Regions from separate parts of the Homo sapiens genome. Here regions 1, 3 and 4 are each linked to region 2. The links are contacts of gene promoters, found by promoter capture Hi-C in human tissues and cell types (Jung and others, 2019). All regions are on one chromosome and are shown on one strand. Each heading gives the region's core, a stretch centred on a gene start or on the middle of the fragment in contact. The rest is flanking DNA. Distances are from core to core; before and after follow the strand shown. Region 1 has its middle 56 kb from the start of CXCL1. Region 2 holds the start of CXCL3 (C-X-C motif chemokine ligand 3). Region 3 overlaps LOC105377277 (a long non-coding RNA gene). Region 4 has its middle 13 kb from the start of PF4.

Region 1 (3,072 bases), core at 268-2,767, 110 kb before region 2:
CTGGTTTTGTGCATTTCTTGGGTAGGAAATATTGTAAGTATTAATTCAACTTTATTAAAGGTTACAGGTTTATTTAAATATAATATTTCCTCTTTAATTTACTGTTATATGTTTCTACAAATTTGTCCATTTTACCTATTTTCACATTAATCGCCACCAAATGATAACATCTTCTTGTTAACTTTGTAATGTCTGCAGTCTTGACCAATCACACCAAAATCTATTCAACAACCAACTCTTGGTTTTGGTGATCCTTTCTATTGAATGTGTGTTTCCAATTTCATAAATTTCTACTCTTATATCTAGTTCCTTCTCTTTGTCTTTTTATTTAATTTAGATATTTTAAGTTCATTTTCTAGCATAGCATTTTAAAGCTGTAAATGTCCCTACATTACCTAGGTCTCATGTGTTCAACATACGGCAAAATTATCAGTTGATTCTATATATTTTCTAATAAGTTTTTATGTATTTTCTGATTTTCTGATTTTTGAGTTATTTAGAAGTGATTTTATTAATTTCCAAATATATGTTGCTTTCAGTATTGTTGAGTTTTTTTCTAAAGTACAGTTTTGTGGTTGATACCTAACTTATTCACACAATAATCACAGATCATTGTGTGTATCACAACAAACATCGAAAAGTATTTTTGAGTCTTGCCTTCTATCTAAATATGTGGTCAGCTTTCATAAATGGTCCATGTCTTCTTGAAAATACTATGTTCTCTGAAACTATCACCATAATCTTTGCCATGAACCTATCCATTACTTCCAAAAATTTCCTCCTTAACTGTTTGTTATTTTTCTTTTTGTATATCAGTTACACCTCAATAAAGTGGGCTTTTTTAAGAAAAGAATATACTCTGTAGCTATTGAAAATTGAGTATGTGGAGATATATATTAATATACATACATATACATAAAAAGCACAATTAATACATTTCATGCAATGGATATGTATATATTGATATATATATCATGTATATATGTTTTTACATATATTGATATATATATCATGTATATATGTTTTTACATATATATGTATATGTGTATATATATCGATATATATGTGTATATGTATCGATACATGTATATACATATATACATATATATCGATATATATGTAAAAACATATATACAGATATATCCATTGCATGGAATGTATTAATTGTGCTTTTTAATAGTCTGTATCTTAATGTCTTTTCTGCATAAATTATCAATTATTTAAAAATATATGTTAAAATTTTCTAATGAAATATTTATATATTTCTTCTTGGACTTATTTATGATATTTTATATATTACATATTTTGAATCTATCATATACAAATAAATTTGATTTCAATATACTCCAGACTAAGTGACTTTTTATAACCATGTATATACTCTCTTAATGTCTAGAAATGTTTGGGAAAAAAAAACTCAGCTGACACCTTGATCTTTGACTTCTAGCCTCCAGAATTGTATGAAAATAAATTTATGTTTTTAAGTCACTCAGTGTGTGGTACTTTGTTATCAAGCAAACTAATACGTTACTCATGCCCAGTGGTATTTGCTGTAGATGATACAGAACCATTGAAGACTCCCAAGGCAGAAAGGTAACCTAATTAGGTTTGTGTTTTAATGGAATCACTTTGCAGTGAATAAGATTGGGGGGCAATAATCAACACTTTTAAAGAAAAGAAATTCTAACCCAGAAATTCATATCCAGCCAAACTAAGCTTCATAAGCAAAAGAGAAATAATGTCTTTTTCAGACAAGCAAATGCTGAGGCATTTTCTATAAAGCAACCACATAAATAAGTCTGCAAAATAACCAGCTAACATCATGATGACAGGATCAAATCCAAACATATCAATACTAACCTTAAATATAAATTGTCTAAATGTCCCAATTAAAAGACACAGAGTGGCAAACTGGATAAAGAACCAAGACCTTTTGGTATGCTATCTTCAAGAGACTGATCTCACATCTGATAACACACATAGGCTCAAAATAAAGGCATAGAGGAAAAATCTGCCAAGCAAATGGAAAACAGAAAAAAGCAGGGGTTGCAATCCTAGTTTCTGATAAAACAGACTTTAAACCAACAAAGGTCAAAAAAGACAAGGGCATTACAAAATAGTAAAGGGTTCAATTTAACAAGTAGATATAACTATTCTAAAGATAGATGCACTGAACACAAGAGCACCCAGACTCATAAAGCAAGTTGTTAGAGACCTTCAAAGAGACTTAGACTTCCACACAATAATAGTGGGAGACGTTAATACTCCACTGACAATATTAGACAGATCATTGAGAAAAAATTAGCAAAGCTATTCAGGACCTAAACCCAGCACTGAATCAAATGGACCTGATAGATACCTACAGAACTGTCCACCCCAAAGCAACAGAATATACATTTTTCTCATTGCCACGTGGCACATACTGTAAAACTGATCAGATAATTGGAAGTAAGAACTGAAGTCATAACAAAGAGTCACTCAGAACACAACACAATTAAATTAGAAATCAAGACTAAGAAATTCACTCATAACGATTACAAGGAAAATGAAAAACGTGCCCCTGAATGACTTTTGAGTAAATTGTAAAATTAAGACAGAAATCAAGAAATTCATTGAAACTACTGCGAACAAAGATTCAACAAATCAGAATGTCTGGGACACAGCTAAGGCAGTGTTAAGAGGGAAAGTAACAGCACCAAATGCCCACATCAAAAAGTTAGAAAGATCTCAAGTTAGCAACCTAAAATCACAACTAAAAAACCTAGAGAACCAAATGTAAATCAGTCCCAAAGCTAGCAGAAGACAAAAAATAACCAAAATCAGAGCTGAACTGAAGGAGATTGAGGCATGAAAAACCATTCAGAAGATCAACAAATCCAGAAGCTGTATTTTTTGACAAAATTAATAAAGTATATAGACTGCTAGCTAGACTAATAAAGAAGAAAAGAGGGAAGATTCAAATACCCACAGTCAGAAATGACAAAGGGGATATTACCACTGACCTCCCAGAAATACAAACAACTATCAGAGAATATTATGAACATCTTTATGCACATAAACTAGAAAATCTAA
Region 2 (3,046 bases), core at 405-2,904:
CACTCACATCTTTAAATAACAGCATGTAAAATATTAAAATACAAGCTTTCAAAAATAAATACATAAATAAGTAGAACCCTCGTAAGAAATAGTCAAACACATTAAGTCCTTTCCAGCTGTCCCTAGAAAGCTGCTGTTCTCTTTTTCATTTTCAGCTCTGGTAAGGGCAGGGACCACCCTGCAGGAAGTGTCAATGATACGCTGATAAGCTTCTTACTTCTCTCCTGTCAGTTGGTGCTCCCCCTGTGATGAGAAAAGGGTTACTGTTGCAGGTGCTAAGGAAGGCTGCTCTTCTGTCACTCTGAAGTTGCTTGGAGGGATGTCCCCATGCAGACTCTCTCCCAGCCCTCCACTCAGGGAAGGTCTGTCTGTACCCACTGCCTTCTATAGCAGAAAACTTGCACTCCTGAATGCTTTTTTTTTTTTTTTCAAGAAAGAAGTGGCTGTGGACTCAACTAGATTCTTGGTTTGAAAAAGCCAAAACATATTGGTCACTGATTGTCACATTGGGTTAGAAATGTCCATTCATGATCTCCCTTAAGCTGCACACAACCCTATGAAATAACTACCATTATCTACCCTATTTTGCTAAAGCTCAAAGAGATTAAATAACGTTGACAGGGATCCTAGCCTTGAACTCACTGAAGGTGTTACTGCAAAGTTTCTGCTCTTCACCAAGAAGGCTTACAGGCCCAAAGTGCCCAAACCAGACATTGCATTTTTCAGGTCTGAAGCCCATTAGGGACTGAGGTAAACGTCCCAAAACAGGCAGGGGGCATTTTGGCATTGTTAGTCAAATTTACTTAGTATTCTAGAAACCCACATTTACCCTCCCAGGGGTTAGGCCTGGAAATGGAAGACACTGAAATACTGAAATATCCTCTGGCACCAGAGCAGATTAATAACCTTAATGGCAACTTTAATTGTGAAAATAATAATCACAATTTCTAGTCCTTCAGCTAACTCTTGGGGTTCCCTGATTTTATTTTTAGGGGGCAGATGCCAGTATTTCTGACCAACGGCTCCAGTCGCCTGTGTATATGGAAATTACAACTCACTTGTTCAGTATCTTTTCGATGATTTTCTGAACCATGGGGGATGCGGGGTTGAGACAAGCTTTCTTCCCATTCTTGAGTGTGGCTCTGCAGAGAGAAGGGAATTCCGTGAGACAGGAGGTCGGGCTGGGGACAGGGTTGGGGCAGCGGGAGAGTCGGGGACCCCAGCGGTGGCAGCGGAAGCGCGGGGCGGGACTTACATGACTTCGGTTTGGGCGCAGTGGGGTCCGGGGGACCTTACATTCACACTTTGGATGTTCTTGAGGTGAATTCCCTGCAGTGTCTGCAAGCACTGGCAGCGCAGTTCAGTGACCACGGACGCTCCTAGGGAAGAATAGACTCGCTGATTGAGCGGGGCTGTCGGCGCGGGGCGCCCACCCCAGCCGCGTCCGGCCCGGGGACCCCAGGGCGCCGGGACCCACCTGCTGCGCGCCGGCTGGCGGCCACCAGGAGCAGGAGCAGCAGCGCCACCCGCAGGAGCCGGGGATTGCTGGGGGCGGCGGAGAGCGTGGCGTGGGCCATGGGGCTCAGCAGACGCGTCGGGAAGCTGTGCGAGAAGCGGGAGAGCTGGCGGGGAGGTGCCTGCGACCCGGGCTGTGTGGCTCCCCAAGATCGGCGAACCCTTTTTATGCATGGTTGAGACTGGAAAGCCCGGAGCGGCCGGGCCAGGGAAATTCCCGGAGCTCCAGATCGATCCGGAGTCCCGAAGGAAGGCGACGGCCCCGCCCCCGGGGTGGAGTCGGATACGGGTAGGGGGAGCCCACTGGTGACGCCTACGCCTCGCCCTCCAGAGTAACCCCCGTGCACTCTGGGACTTTGGGATATTCATTTTCTGCCCCAAATTCCTGGAGAGGCAGTGAGTCCACCTCGCTGAAGATACAGCCTGTGAGGGGGGACCTTAGGTCCCCGATGACCCCCCGCGTACGGGGTAGGGTTGGAGGAAAGAGCTGGGGGGACCCGTGAGAACCAGGACAGGAAAGGCACGACTTCTTTAGAGGAAGAGAGCTTTGTCTCCTTAGTTATCAGATTTGCTGGGGACCCGGAGACAGGCGAGTTTTCCCTCAGCTATCCTCTCTCTATATAGTCTATCCTCTATGTTAACCTCCCGGTCTCTGCCTCTCTCATTTTCGGTTTAGCGTTATTTCATGTACATCTAACATCATGCTCTCTGTGAAAGTACAGCCATCGTCTCGGATTCCAGAGAAGAATGTTCTACTTGTTCCTTGTTTTGCATATTCTCTAATCACACTTAGAATACCTTGTTTACGTTTTCCATTTGGTGGCAACAGATTATCAGTGTCAAAATTTGAATTCAGTGTTAGTGTCCGTGGAAGCCAGGGCTGTATAACATGACCTCTTCTTTTGTATCCTGCATAACGTCCTTCCTCCCTCTGAAATGTTGGAACTTCCTAAATCCCCTGGAGACCTTCTCCCAGTGGGAGGGATTCAGATTTGATCTAGAAATATGACACTGGCTGTCACTCTGAAGCTGTGGAGGGGCTGGGTCCAGCAGGATCATGGGCTCAATGTTTCTGGTTCTGTCTTTGCGAATGACACTAGAGAGTAGGTACCTGGTGTGCAAACACCATTCCCACTGAAGGAGCAAACAGCTGCCTGCTGATGACATTTAAACACCAGATCACACATAAAATCACATTTCATTTACTATAGAATTTTCTGGTATTCAGCACTGGGGGATCTTTCTCTGGAAACATTAACAGGGCACTTTTTTTTCTCGTCTGGATTTTCAGTCTTTTAACCTGACACCTTTGTCCCTTTTTCTAGTTTTAGATAATGTATTTTGATTTGTCATTAGGTTTTAGAGGGTTTAAGTGTGATTCTACAAGTTGGTCTCAGACCTCTTTGAGACGTGGAGTAGGATGGAGGAGAGGAGAAAGGAATGGCATCTGCCTGAAGCACAGGGCTCTACACAACCCAGCTCAAGGGATAAGAGTCCTTGCCCCTAACCAAACACAGAGCGTGCAACTGTG
Region 3 (3,055 bases), core at 283-2,782, 80 kb after region 2:
TAGGTTTTATTTCACCAAGTTTATAAAGTAAACCACATATCGTTTTCTCTTTTGTAGATGCTGAAAGCAAAGTTCATGTGGGAAATGTTTGGCAATAGCTGATTTATCCTCAGGGTAACAATATTCTATAACTCCTTTGATCTTGAGGCCTCTGTGATGGAAATGCTTGGAGAAAGGGATTTTAAAGGGAGATTCTGAAGTCCTTGGGAAAGTCCACAAGTGGACGGGGCTTCATAGCCATGACAACAAATGACATTGTCTAGGAAACAGTGAGTCATGGCATGCTGAGCTTAGAATGGAGCCAACAGAAGGAACCTGGCCTCGGACACAGAATCTTTTGGCTGCTGACCCAGAATGACTGTGAAAGACTAACACTGTTTAGCAGATTTTTCTTGAGTGTTTACTATGTGTGAGGTTCCTGGGATTCAGATTCAGCTACTATTGTTAAGAGGAAATCAACCAGGAAGTCAGTTAAGAAAAGGTACAGTGGGTTTTCAGGCTGCAGGGTACAGAAATGTTCCCAGGCCTGGAGAACAAACCTTCAGATCTTAATCTGTACAGGGAGGTGGAGGGTGAAAGAATGATCTTTCAGGAAGCGTTCAAGTAGGGCTGCTGCTTGGATTGAATTTTAAAGAATGCATAGGTTATATGCAGGATCTATATATAGATCAATAGCTTCCCTGAGCACATGTTCAAAGGTTCAAACATTTGGGGTCATTTCTTTGCAAGAAGAGTCACTCAGTGGCCTGAAAGTCCATGCAGCAACTTCCCTCATGAGAGCTGCTTCCGCAGCAGGCCCAGGGTTTCTAAAGGAGAGAGCACACAGATGTAAACACTCTGTGGTTCTGAGGACTGTCACCTCTTCTTTTCACCCATCACTTTTGTCTTAAGAACTCTATGCTCAACCCTAATTCTCAGTCTCTATATCAATTCCCACCAAACAGATGCAAAGTCCTGTCCATTTGCTTCCATGAACTCTGTACTTATCGATGATATAATACTCTGCTGACTACATTTTACTTGCCACTTCATATCCTCACTAGACTGAAAGACCTATAAGGGAAGAGATATCTTATTTATATATCTTTCTTATATATCTTTCCCATATATCCTATTTACTGTTGTACTTACAACTCCTACAACCGTGCTTGGTACATAGGGTGTTGAAAAAGTATTTATGAAATTATGAATAACACTGATTCTATTAAATAACATTATTAAGTTAATGAACAAATAATTAAGCTTAGTAAAATATCAAAAGTTAAAGATATCAAAAACTAAACACTTATAGAATAAAAGTTTGCTTTTCTTGTCTAGTGAGCACATTAATACAGATTTTAACCCTCTTTTGTCCTCTCCTGATTCACACGAAAAAATACATAGGCCTCAGCTGTTCATTGGTGCCAGATAAAAATAAAGTACTTTTTAATTGTAATTACTGCAAAGGCTCTTCAACAGTGCACAGTATACCAGGAACTGAAACTTTTCTTATAAAACAAAATAAATATCAGTAGAAACAGAGCAAAGGCATTTCATTAAGTATTATGGACTGAATTGCATTCCCTGTAAATGTGTTAAAGTCTGAACTCTCAGTACACCTCAGAATATAACTGTATTTAGAAATAGGGCCTTTAAAGAGGTAGTTAAGATTAAATGAGATCATGTGGATTGGTCTTAATCTAAGATGACTGGTGTCATTATAAGAAGAGGAGAAGACACCAGAGATGCAACCACACAGAGAAAAGGTCATGTGAGCAGGGATCCCCAAACCCTGAGCCAAGAACTGACAGTGGTCCATGGCTTGTTAGGAACCATGCCACACAGCAGGAGGTGAGCCAAAGGCAAGGGAGCAAAGCTTCATCTGTATTTATAGCCGCTCCCCATTGCTCACATTACCTCCTGAGCTCTGCCTCCTGTCGGATCAGTGGTGGCATTAGATTCTCATAGGAGTGCACACCCTATTGTGAACTGCGCATGAGAGGGATCTAGATTGCATGCTCCTTATAAAGTCTAATGCCTGATGATCTGAGGTGGAGCTGAGGTGGTGATGCTAGCTCTGAGGAGTGGTTGCAAACACAGATTAACATTAGCAGAGAGGTTTGACTGCCCAGAGACCATAATAAATCAGTTGCCTGCAGACGCATATCAAAACCCTGTCAGTGAGTGGCAGGTGATAATTCAGCTGCATCTGGTGGCTGGCTTTATAGTGGCAAGTGCGTTGATGTACTTCAACTGTACAGCTGCATCTGGTTGCTGGCTTTATAGTGGCAAGTGAGTTGATGTACTTCAACTGTACAGCTGCATCTGGTGGCAGGCTTTAAGTCAGAATCTGACACTTATTTTAGTCCATGTGTGTCCTGCCCATTATTTTATTTGTCACTTCCATCCGCACCTCTTTCCTGCACTGCACACTTGTCTCAATCAGTTTTGGTAAGCCCACAAGCTAACCCTAGCCAAAATGAATAAAAACAATCATCACTGGAGAGTTTCTTTGAAAAGTGGGAAAGAACCAATGATGAGACAGCAGAAGACTCTAAGACTGCCAACAAAAAGAAAGCTGCATTTAAAAGAAAATACTGGCCGGGCGCGGTGGCTCATGCCTGTAATCCCAGGACTTTGGGAGGCCGAGGCGGGCGGATCACGAGGTCAGGAGATTGAGACCATCCTGGCTAACAAGGTGAAACCCCGTCTCTACTAAAAATACAAAAAATTAGCCGGGCATGGTGGCGGGTGTCTGTAGTCCCAGCTACTCAGGAGGCTGAAGCAGGAGAATGGCGTGAACCTGAGAGGCAGAGCTTCCAGTGAGCCGAGATCGTGCCACTGCACTCCAGCCTGGGTGACAGAGCGAGACTCCATCTCAAAAAAAAACAAAAAAAACAAAATACCATGAGTCCTACTTAAATTACAGGGTCATTGCACCAGATAATTCACATTCTCCAAGCCCTCTTTTTATAATATGTGGTGGTTGGCTATGCAATGAAGCCATGAAACCTTCAGAACTGCTTCACTGCATGGAAACCAAGCACCCTGTGTTAAACAAGACTTTGGAGTTTTT
Region 4 (3,045 bases), core at 401-2,900, 69 kb before region 2:
CCAAAATGGCTGACTGGAAGCAGTTAGTGTGCACTACTTTCACAAAGAGAAGAAAAAGTGGTGAATAAATACTACATCTTCAATTGAAACACCCAGGTGGGCACAAACCCAGGGATTCATCAAACAAACAACTCAACCCAAGGAGAACACAGAGGAGCAAGAATAGATTAATGCCTACCTGACAGTGGCATGGAGCCAGAGGAGGCTCCCCGACCACTGGGAAATGGTGAGAGAATGAGAAACCCTGGGACACACACTTGGTCCATAGATCTTTGCAAGCCCTGGTCTCAGGAGATGCCCTTGTGAGCTCATCCCACAAAAACCTTCAGACTGATATGCAAAGCTATGGGAGTCTCAGCAGAGCCACTGCTGAGGCATAGCCAAAGTCCCAAAAGCCTTTGATCCCCAGGCATTCCAGCATTAGTGGCTTCAGCTCTGGCAAAGGGGGAAGTTAGTCTCCTTTACACACATCCAGGAAAGGAGCCAAATCCAGGGGGTTGAGCAGCAACTGTCTACAGGCTTCACTTACACTGCACCTCACAGGATGAGACCCATTGGTCTAGGACTCCAGCCTCCCACCACTGGGGTTATGAGGCTAGTAGCAGCTCTGCACTTCCCCAGGACAGATCTCCAGGGCAAGGGGGCAGCAACTTTCCTGCCTTGCAGCCCTCACTGTTGTTGCCTTCAGGCTCTGGAGAGCCTACAGTGACTAGGGACTGGCACAAACCCCCAGCACAGCACAGCTGTCCCACAGAAAAATGGCCAGACTCTTTTTTTTATGTGGATCCCACATTTCTCCTCAGTGGATGGGAGCTCCCAACCTGGGACTCCAACCACTTCCCATCAGGGCTCTCAGGTTGGTAGCAGCTCTGCATTTCCATGACACAGAGCCCCTAAAGGGAGTGGTAGGCTGCCATCTTTGCTTTCTCACAGCCCTCACTATTGTTGCCTTCAGGCTCTGGAGAGTATGTGGTGACGAGGGACTAACATGTAACCCTAGCACAGTGCAGCTGCTTCATCAAAAAGTGGCCAGACTGTTTTACATGCAGGTTCTCATCCCAACTTCTCCTTAGTTGGTGAGGCCTCCTAACCTTGGACTCCAGCACAACCACCCTGCCCCCACTTGAACACTTCAGTTGGGGGCAGCTCAGCATTTCTCTGAGGAGGAAATCTCAGAGTCAACCCACAACCTCTTGGCCATTGCAGCTGCAGTAGTACTGCCCTAACCACCTTTCGGCTGAGGAAGGAACAAAGGGCCTAGTCACTTCACTGGCACCCAAGCACTCCACAGCCACCATACAGAGAGGAGTTCAGTCTACCTTCCCTGTGAGCCCCCAGCACCCACTCTTCAGCAGGCAGGGCCCCTGCTCAGGTCCACAGTTTAGATGCCCCACAAACAGCTGAGAATACCCACTGGTAGTGGCTCTGAATTTCCTGGGAAGGGGCTCCAAGAGGCAATCAATGTTCCTTTCTGCCACTGTCACAACAATGTTCTGTCTCTTCTGTTCACAGGCTGGGGAAGAAACTGAGCCTGAGGGCTTCACCCAAGCTTACAGCACACCATAGTCACTATACAGAGAGGAAGCCAGTCTCTCCTCCCTGTAAACCCTCAACCCCCAAGTCCCCAACTAGGAGGGGTCCTCAGCTCAGGCTACCAGTGCAGCCACCTCAACCCCTGGCTGAACATTCCCAGGAACTGTGGCTATATGGTTCTCAGAGGTAGAGTTCCCAGAGGCTACTGAAAACCCCTCTACCACTGCCACTGCAGTGGTACTGCCCTTTCTGCCCTTGCCCTGGGGAATGAGCAAAGACCCTTAGTGCTTCAACTGCACCTTGAGCAAGCATTAATTGCCCTATGGAGAGGTTACTGGTCTGTCTGCCCTCTTTCCCCGCCACTCACTTGTCACAAGGTATGCCTCCCTGGCTTGGGCTCACAGGACAGCTGCCGCAACCCAAGTTGATCACACTGACTGATAGCAGCTCCACACCTCTCAAGATGGAGCCCCAAAAGATAAGTGAAAGACTCTCTATCACAACCACTGCAAAGTTCCTTTCCCCTGTTACCTCTAAGCTTGGGAGGGAACATAAAGCCTGACATTGCCCCAGAGCTGAGATACACAGCCCAGCAGTGTTAAATTGACATCTTCAGCCAGCACTGAAGTGAGAGAGGAACTCTTACTTTCAGAGTGCTGAGAAGGAGCATGGCTATAGTCATGAAGAAATACAGAGAAGCCATGTGACTGAGCAAAAGCTTGCCTACTGGCCATTACACTTAAGTACCACCTACTGGATTGCAGCCCAAAATTTCAACACCAAAAATAATTTGTTAATATACCCTTCTGTGATATCAATGACAAGAATTCAGCTAAAAATAAGGACCCTGCAAAAAGCTTTGGCCCTCTGAAAGCATCTAAAAAAGAAGTCTACTGGTGGTCTTCAATTTATACCACAGTTAAAGGTAAACCCATCCACACAGATGAGAAAGAACAAATAAAAGAACTCTAGCAAATCACAAAGCCAGAGTGTCTTATTCCCTGAAAATGGCTATACTAGTTTCTGAGCAAGGATTCTTAACTGGGCTGAAATAGCTGAAATGACAAAAATAGAATTCAGATTATGGATAGGAATGAAGATCATCGAGATTTGGGAGACCATTAAATAATTCAATACAAAAAATCTAACAATCACAATAAAATAATACAGGAGCTAATAGATTAAATCATATTTTTAAAAAACATCTGATAGAGCTGAAAAATACACTACAAGAATTTTGTAATACAGTCACAAGTATTAGCAGCAGAATAGATCAAGTGGAGGAAAAAAATCTCAGAGCTTGCAGGTTGACTCTGAAATAACTCAGTCAGCCAGAAATAAAGCAAAAACAATAAAAAAGAATGAACAAAATATCAGAGCAACATAGAATAATATGAAGAGACCAAATCTATGACTTATTGGTGTCCCTGAAAGAGCCAGAGAGAAAGCAAGCAACTTGGAAAACACATAATCTTGAGATTCTCTAGTATCAAAATAAAAGAAAAAAATGTC

The links. The method cuts DNA at HindIII sites, captures the fragments that hold promoters and counts their contacts. A contact is called where the count stands out against the background at its distance.
Region 1: a fragment that was not itself captured here is called in contact with the fragment with the promoter of CXCL3 in region 2 in 3 of the 25 tissues and cell types used here (adrenal gland, hippocampus and stomach).
Region 3: a fragment that was not itself captured here is called in contact with the fragment with the promoter of CXCL3 in region 2 in 3 of the 25 tissues and cell types used here (H1 embryonic stem cells, ovary and thymus).
Region 4: a contact is called between a fragment that was not itself captured here and the fragment with the promoter of CXCL3 in region 2, in 2 of the 25 tissues and cell types used here (H1 embryonic stem cells and pancreas).

The regions. Positions count from the first base shown.
Region 1 is chr4:73,924,074-73,927,145 of GRCh38, forward strand. No RefSeq gene overlaps it. Among named protein-coding and RNA genes, the nearest start is that of CXCL1, 56 kb to the left of the region's middle. The HindIII fragment of the contact is 9,274 bases long and covers 1-3,072 here.
Region 2 is chr4:74,037,035-74,040,080 of GRCh38, forward strand. It overlaps CXCL3 (C-X-C motif chemokine ligand 3), which reads right to left and starts at 1,655. Exons shown (of 4, transcript NM_002090.3): 1 at 1,478-1,655; 2 at 1,256-1,379; 3 at 1,059-1,142; 4 at 1-243. The coding sequence starts at 1,577. The coding sequence ends at 228. It overlaps LOC105377275 (a long non-coding RNA gene), which reads left to right and starts at 1,911. Exons shown (of 2, transcript XR_938875.3): 1 at 1,911-3,046. The HindIII fragment of the contact is 6,255 bases long and covers 663-3,046 here.
Region 3 is chr4:74,116,924-74,119,978 of GRCh38, forward strand. All of the region lies in intron 1 of LOC105377277 (a long non-coding RNA gene), which reads right to left. It also overlaps a transcript of MTHFD2L not described here. Among named protein-coding and RNA genes, the nearest start is that of CXCL2, 19 kb to the left of the region's middle. The HindIII fragment of the contact is 3,408 bases long and covers 1-3,055 here.
Region 4 is chr4:73,967,621-73,970,665 of GRCh38, forward strand. No RefSeq gene overlaps it. Among named protein-coding and RNA genes, the nearest start is that of PF4, 13 kb to the right of the region's middle. RefSeq lists an enhancer at 258-759. The HindIII fragment of the contact is 4,172 bases long and covers 1-3,045 here.